Regions from separate parts of the Homo sapiens genome. Here region 1 is linked to region 2. The links are contacts of gene promoters, found by promoter capture Hi-C in blood cells and fetal thymus (Javierre and others, 2016). All regions are on one chromosome and are shown on one strand. Each heading gives the region's core, a stretch centred on a gene start or on the middle of the fragment in contact. The rest is flanking DNA. Distances are from core to core; before and after follow the strand shown.

Region 1 (3,562 bases), core at 1,040-3,539, 1.2 Mb before region 2:
ATTTGGGCTGGGCATGGTGGCTCACGCCTGTAATCTTAACAATTTGGGAGGCCGAGGTGGGTGGATCACTTGAGGTCAGAAGTTCAAGACCAGCCTGACCAACATGGTAAAACCCTGTCTCCACTAAAAATATAAATATATATATATATATATTAGCCAGGTGTGGTGGTGGGTGCCTATAATTCCAGCTACCGGGGAGGCTGAGACACGAGACTCGCTTGAACCCAGGAAGCAGAGGTTGCAGTGAGCCACGATTGCGCCACTGCACTCCAGCCTGCGCGACAGAGCAAGACTCCATGTCAAAAAAAAAAGAATACATTTAAATTACTTTTATTTTTATATTTAATTTTAACTTTTGTTATAGTAATAAAGAAAAAATTGTGTTAAAATGTTTTAAATAAAAATGGCAGCCCCTTGCCTCAGCCTTCCCTACCCCTTGATATTTTCTCCAGTTAACTGCTTTTAAATCTTTTGTGTTTTTCCTAATTTTACCTCTATATTATTTATTAATAACTTACTTTCTTAATTGATTAGTTTTAGACATTATATATTGGGTTGCTGTAATGGTAGGCAATAATTTAACTAATAAAGTGCAAACACCCCTTGTTTCTCGTCACATTTCCCCAAAATAGTTAAGTCACAATTTTTGCTTACCTTAGTCATCAGTATTTATATTATCATTGACTGTGTAAATATTATTCACAGCAGAAGCAATTATTAGCCTATGGCATCCTTTCTCATGTAACTTTTTGTTTGTCCTAGACTTCATAATTATCTTAGTTTCTTTTGCCTAATTTTCTGTGTATATGTCACTGCTTTTCCTTTTTTTTGTAAAACTTTTTGTTTTCCCCAGAGTTCATAATTGCTTTGATTTTCCTTCTGCTTCATTTTCTGTGTATTTAGCCAAATACATCATCAGAACTGCCAAACATCTATCATATCAATATTACTTTTGGAAATGGTCAAGCATATTGGATAATCTACCAATCCTCCCTCCTACCCTTTTTTCCCTAGAGACCTCCTCCTGCTCTAATATGGACTGATTTTTTTTCTAGTGTCTAAAAATTTCATCATAATAAGGCTTTGATGAGGATGTTTGGTAAGGATGACACTCAGCGGGCTCTTTCTAAATCGTAGGGAATTGTCTACACATTATATGTAATTTTACATAAGCAAAGTTTGAAAGTGTGTTTTAGGTATCTAATGTCATAGAAGGACTTCCTTCATTTTCTACTTGACTAGGTTTCCATAGTAGGGTGGAGATAATGCTCCTGATTCTGGATACAGATGGATAAAATACTATATCTGGATTCCTGAAATGCCTAGTGACTAAAAGTAGAATTTGCTAATACATAATTCTAATCCTATTTCTTGCCATATATATTAACCTTAGGGTCAGTCACCTGAATTTTGAATTCCAAATCTCAAATCCTATTTCTTGACATGTATATTAACCTTAGGGTCAGTCACCTGAATTTTGAATTCCAAATAATTACTAAGAATATATTTCCAGACAATTTCTTATTATCCTCATACTCATAGTGACACTTGCCACTGTAAAAACTAGTTTTAATATAGGTAAGTTAAACATAATTTTAAACAATATTTTTTAAACATGGCACAAAATTGTTTTACATATTAGTATTTATTAGTTGCATTAGAAGCTTTACCTAATAGTGGAGAATTAACTATACTAGTATCAGTAATAGCTTTTTATTTCAGTACTTTACATATGCAGAATATTTAGTTATTTTTTACTATGTACCTTCAGAGTAGGCCAATAACATTATTTTACTTTGCTGAAGTAGAAATTAAAGTCATTGAAATTCATGATTAAGTTTTCTTATGGGGACTTCTTGTTCTCAGATAATTCATCCCCCTGTAAAGGAGGATTAGTCTTTTCCTAGATAATCCACATGTAAACCATGGAAGACACTGATTTTTTGGGGAAGTAGACATTTTTTTTTCAGTGTGTTTCACTATATTTTAATCTCATTCCTTTTTGAGATTGTTGCAACTCAAATGTTATGGTATTCAGCTGAAGTCTTGTGGGACATGGCTCTCTACTTTCATTTGATTTTTAAAAATTTATTTCCTGAGAATATTGCTGAAAGAAAAAAAATGTTTTTAAATATTTAAGGTCTTGGTTGAAACACTTAGCCCTGGTAACCTTTACAAGCAGAGATTAAGTATGCATGATCAAATCATTCTCCCCAAATACACCGCCTCTGGAATGCCCCTGGCCTCTGCCTAGACCTGTAGCTTTGCAGCAACGACACATTGCAGGATGCACCACCCTTCACCCTTCCTTTTCTGTCTTCAGCAGTATTGTCCACTGATAGTTGTGGACAGACATGGGAGTGCTGAATCCCCAGAGGTAGGGGTAGTCTGCCTTGTATGCCAATTTTTTTCCCAGTAAGGAATTGGATGGTGGTGGGATTCATGCTGAGGGATGGGTGGGGTCAGAGAAACACCAACCAAAGATTTTGCCAGGATTATGACATTTCCCCTACAGTTTTGGATACTTTACAATGAATTATTTTTCTATTTTTATGTGTTGTGTAAGGGGTTACTTGCATTTATATTTGTATTACTGGATGCCTACCAAAAATAAATGTGTTTACTCAGTCAACTGACTATGTAATCTTTTGGTTTGTTTCATCAGTTAGAGTCCACATCATGTCTCTCTGAAGAACAGTTAAAGTGTCTTCTGGATGAATGCATACTTAAACAAAAATCCATCATTAAACTTTCTTCAGAAAGAAAAAAGGAAGACATTGAGGACGTAACACCTGTGTTCCCCCAGCTTTCCAGGTCCATCATCTCTAAATTGCTAAATGAATCAGAAACAAAGGTCCAGAAAACTGAGGTAGAAGATGCAGATATGCTTGAGAGTGAAGAATGTGAAGCTTCTAAAGGCTACTATCTCACTAAAGCCTTGACTGGACATAACATGTCAGAAGCTCTTGTCACTGAAGCAGAGAATATGAAATGCCTTCAATTTTCCAAGGACGTTATTATTAGTGACACAAAAGACTATTTTATGTCGAAGACTCTTGGCATTGGGAGACTGAAAAGGCCCTCCTTCTTAGATGATCCACTGTATGGTATCAGTGTGAGCCTTTCATCAGAAGACCAACATCTGAAACTCAGTTCTCCAGAGAATACAATAGCAGGTGAGGCTTGGCGAACATGTGTTTTGGTAAATAATTCTTAAAAGCACCTCAATATAAAGGTATTATGGTTTAAATTAGAGTCGGGTAAGAAGGTATGTTTGTAAGTCACAGGTAGCGTCAATAAGAGTATGCAAACATAAAACCTATTTCCCAATGCTCTTATGAAATCAAAGTTGAGGTTAGTACTCTATGAAATACGTTATTCTTGATGGTAATTAATTGTGTCATCCAGAAAATAATGTTGGTTTCACAGGAAAAGAGAAATTAGTTTGAATGGAGAGAAATACTTTGAATAGATTTGCTTAGTATTTCAACTTCAAACTTTAGTATTTTCAAACTTTAGTGATGAAAATTTGTTCTAAGGAATGAATTTAAAATGTAAAACT
Region 2 (3,596 bases), core at 509-3,008:
TGTAAACTGTTTTACTTTCCATGTTGAATAATCTGACTAATTTTCCTTGATAAAAATCAAGATTATAGCAATGAATTTTCTAAAACACTTATAATATGAACAATAAGTTCAAGAAATGAAGAAAGAAGAAAAGCACTGCCTTTTCCTTTTTCATAAACCATTTATGAGTTCCCAATATTCTTACCTGAAGTACTTGGGAGCTCAAACTGTTTGGAGCCTAAATAATTCTACTAAGTATTTTCAGTTCTTGTTTTGGTTCCTTCTTAACCAAGTTAAGTGAGAACTTCCAAGGGACTTCACAGAAGTAAAAATGCCCCCTAAATAATCAATGGCACTGTTCTTTCGTTTGACAAATATGTATTCACGATCTACTAAGTGCAAGACTCCGTAACCCTGGGTCACTGCAAAGTAGGTATTATCAGGGTTCAACTAAAGAAACAATTGATAGAGGGGCAAATGCAGTTTTAGAGAAGATAAAGTGGGGTGTGGGATTGGTTCAAGCTTCATAATAACGCTGCAAAGGCACAGCTTCCCCTATCAAGAAACAGCAGCACGTAGCAGGGCAAACAAATGTGCAGATGGCTCCAAGCTCTTTATTTAATGTGCACTGTATGACTCAACTATCTGGTCCTATGCTTACTGCTGTGGACTCTTCTCTAAGCTTTTCTTCATTCATTTACTCATTCATTCAACCACTATTTACTGTAAAAGACTCCGTTCTAGTGTGTTGCTGGGAAAACATCGGTGAATAAAATATGCAAAGCATCAGTTTTCCAGGAGCTGACTTGGGGAGGAGGAGGAATAAAACGAGGGAGAAGCAGAGTTCAAGAGACAAATGAATGGGCAGGACATGATAATTTGGGATGGGGACAAGAGCTGTGTGGAAAAAAACAGGATGAGGTTGAGGGGGAGATTACGAACCACCACACTTGTTAAGTATTAACATTACTCCCACCTCCACCCTGAGTTCTCACAGCACTTACCATTCTGCACTGTAAATACCAGCCGGCAGCAGACTTGCAGCCTGCGCGACTATGTAAGCCAAGAGTAATCTGAAAAACTATCCTTTTCCCTTGCCTAGGGGAAATTTACAAACGTAAATATGTGTAAATTAATATACAAGCTAATATACACGTTGACGAACGGACGAAATGGTTGAAAGAACGAACTCGCAATGAACTACAACACTTTCTCCGGTCAAAGTAAAAGCCATTCGCTCCAGAGCCCCAAGTAAGCCACAAGTTGTACATTGTAGGAGACAACAGTCCTCAACAGCAGCTCAGGTTCCAGCACCTCCCTCCGGGCGCCAGAACTACGTCAACACAAATATCACCTGCGGGCGCGAGCTAGCCCAGAAAACCGGTGCTAGAAGGGCCGCTCCGCGCCACCCGGCGGATTCCTGCAACAGAGTTTCGAGGCAAGAAGTTTCGAAGAGGGGGCCACGAACCCCAGCTCTCCGGCCCTGCTCCACCCCCCAAATAGATTTCTCTCCCGCCTCCCGCTTAACTCCGTCGGCGCCGGAGGGATCGAGGCAGGGAAGGAGGCCTACACATGGCCGCCCAGGCCCACAGAGGCCCAAGGGAAGTAGGCTAAGCAGCCAGGCCAAGGAGAGGTTGCGTTTTCAGGGAAAAGGCGTCTCCAAAAGCACTCACCCCAGCGCCTCCAGTGTGTCCAGCACGTCTCCCTCCATCGTCGGTTGGGGACCCGGCTCCGGCCCTCTCATGGTCCTTTGGCCCAGAGCTGTTCGGCGCTCTAAGTAGCCCGCCGGAAACTAGCGTCACCGCGCCAAGGTTCCGGTCCGGGTCTGGCCGGTAACTGCCTGAGAGCACAGCTGAAGAAGGGCGCAAAGGTTCCCAGCCCCGAGGCAATAAACACTTCATAGTGCCTAAAACCGCTGCGTGTAACGATAATAATTTTTTAAAAGAATAGTAGAAATAATAAATAATAGTAATAAAGAGTTCTCTGTGTTGGGACTTTTCTGTGTGTTCAAATAAATTTTAGCAAATATCGTGGTATCGGGTTGATCTCAACCTATCCGATTCCAGACCTTTTTAATAACAGAAATCTGAAATAAAATTATAATTATCTTCAGCTAAAATTAGTAACTAATATCACATGCCTACACATATAATTTTTAAATCAATATACACGACGATGCTTCAACTTGAAGGAAAAAATGAAGTAATTTATAACAAGGTAATATTTTTCTCCTTATGAAATGCGGAAGACCAATGAAGTGATCAGATGCTTGCATCTATCTATGTAGAATCCCCTCAACTGCATATTCAGATGATGTGCTTCATTGCTGACAAAGCATTAGTTGTATAAGCAACAAACATACCGCCAGCAAAGTAAGGTAGTTGATGTGGTTTTCCAAAATTGTGGCGAATTCTCTGTAAAGTTCCAAACAAACAAAACATAATATACCCTCTGTGTACTATCCATGAAGAATTCAATCTCTTATCTAAAGGATTTAAAAAATGTATTTTAGGGTTCATATGTAAAAGGTACTAAGAGTATAAGGTTAGATCATTATTAGCAGGCATGTCACCTACATGAATACTCTAGCAGAACTGTTGGAAATCCTGCATGAAGTATAACTATTGATCCCTTGTATGGACCTGTCCCTTCCATTGCAGACTACATAGCATTCGTAGCCCCAGTCCAATAAAGACCAGTAATGCTCTCGCCTTCCTAATTATGGTTACAAACAAAAAGCATACCCATAAATGTGTAAAACACTCAAAGGTAAGCTGTAGTAGTCCACTCTCATATTGCTATAAAGATATACCTGAGACTGGGTAATTTATAAAGAAAAGGGGTTTAATTGGCTCATGGTTCCACAGGCTGTACACGAAGCATGATGCTGGCATCTGCTCCACTCCTGGGGAGGCCTCAGGAAATGGACAGTTGTGGCAGAAGGGGAAGGGGGAGTGCAGCTATCACGTGGCCGGAGTAAGAGGAAGAGAGAGGGTGCAGGGAGGCAGGGAGGTGCCACACACTTTTTTTTTTTTTTTCAGTCTCGCACTGTCGCCCAGGCTAGAGTGCAGTGGCATGATCTCAGCTCACTGCAAACTCCGCCTCCCGGGTTCACGCGATTCTCCTGCCTCAGCCTCCCGAGTAGCTGGGATTACAGGCGCCCACCACCACACCCGGCTAATTTTTGTATTTTTAGTAGAGACGGGGTTTCACCAGGTTGGTCAGGCTGGTCTCGAACTCCTGACCTCGTGATCTGCCACACACTTTTAAAAAACCAGATCTCATGATAAACTCACTCACTATACAGTGCCAAGGCAGGAATGGTGTCAAACCATTCAAGAGAACTCTGCCCTCATGATCCAATCACCTCCCACCAGGTCCCTCCTCCAACATTGGGGATTATAATTTAACATGAGATTTGGGCACAGACACAGATCCTAACCATATCATAAACTCAACCATACATTTGTATAATGACTATTATTACTGTATATTTTAGTGTTGTACAAGGCTTAAGCGTAAAATTACTTGCAGTTTAATGTATCTGAATTCATCTCCAAATAAGGGAGAGGAGAATGTATATTAGTGGTTACTGCCTCTTGTCAGAGTTGGGGTGT

The links. The method cuts DNA at HindIII sites, captures the fragments that hold promoters and counts their contacts. A CHiCAGO score of 5 or more calls a contact.
Region 1: a contact is called between a fragment that was not itself captured here and the fragment with the promoter of FAM98B in region 2, in 3 of 17 cell types (naive CD8 T cells, total CD8 T cells and total CD4 T cells). The highest score is 7.6, in naive CD8 T cells.

What each region holds. Positions count from the first base shown.
Region 1 is chr15:39,617,349-39,620,910 of GRCh38, reverse strand. It overlaps FSIP1 (fibrous sheath interacting protein 1), which reads left to right. Exons shown (of 12, transcript NM_152597.5): 11 at 2,666-3,176. Among named protein-coding and RNA genes, the nearest start is that of THBS1-IT1, 33 kb to the right of the region's middle. RefSeq lists an enhancer at 2,378-3,562. The HindIII fragment of the contact is 1,245 bases long and covers 1,667-2,911 here.
Region 2 is chr15:38,452,289-38,455,884 of GRCh38, reverse strand. It overlaps FAM98B (family with sequence similarity 98 member B), which reads right to left and starts at 1,758. Exons shown (of 8, transcript NM_173611.4): 1 at 1,653-1,758. The coding sequence starts at 1,723. RefSeq lists enhancers at 1,341-1,440, 1,501-1,610. The HindIII fragment of the contact is 3,660 bases long and covers 664-3,596 here.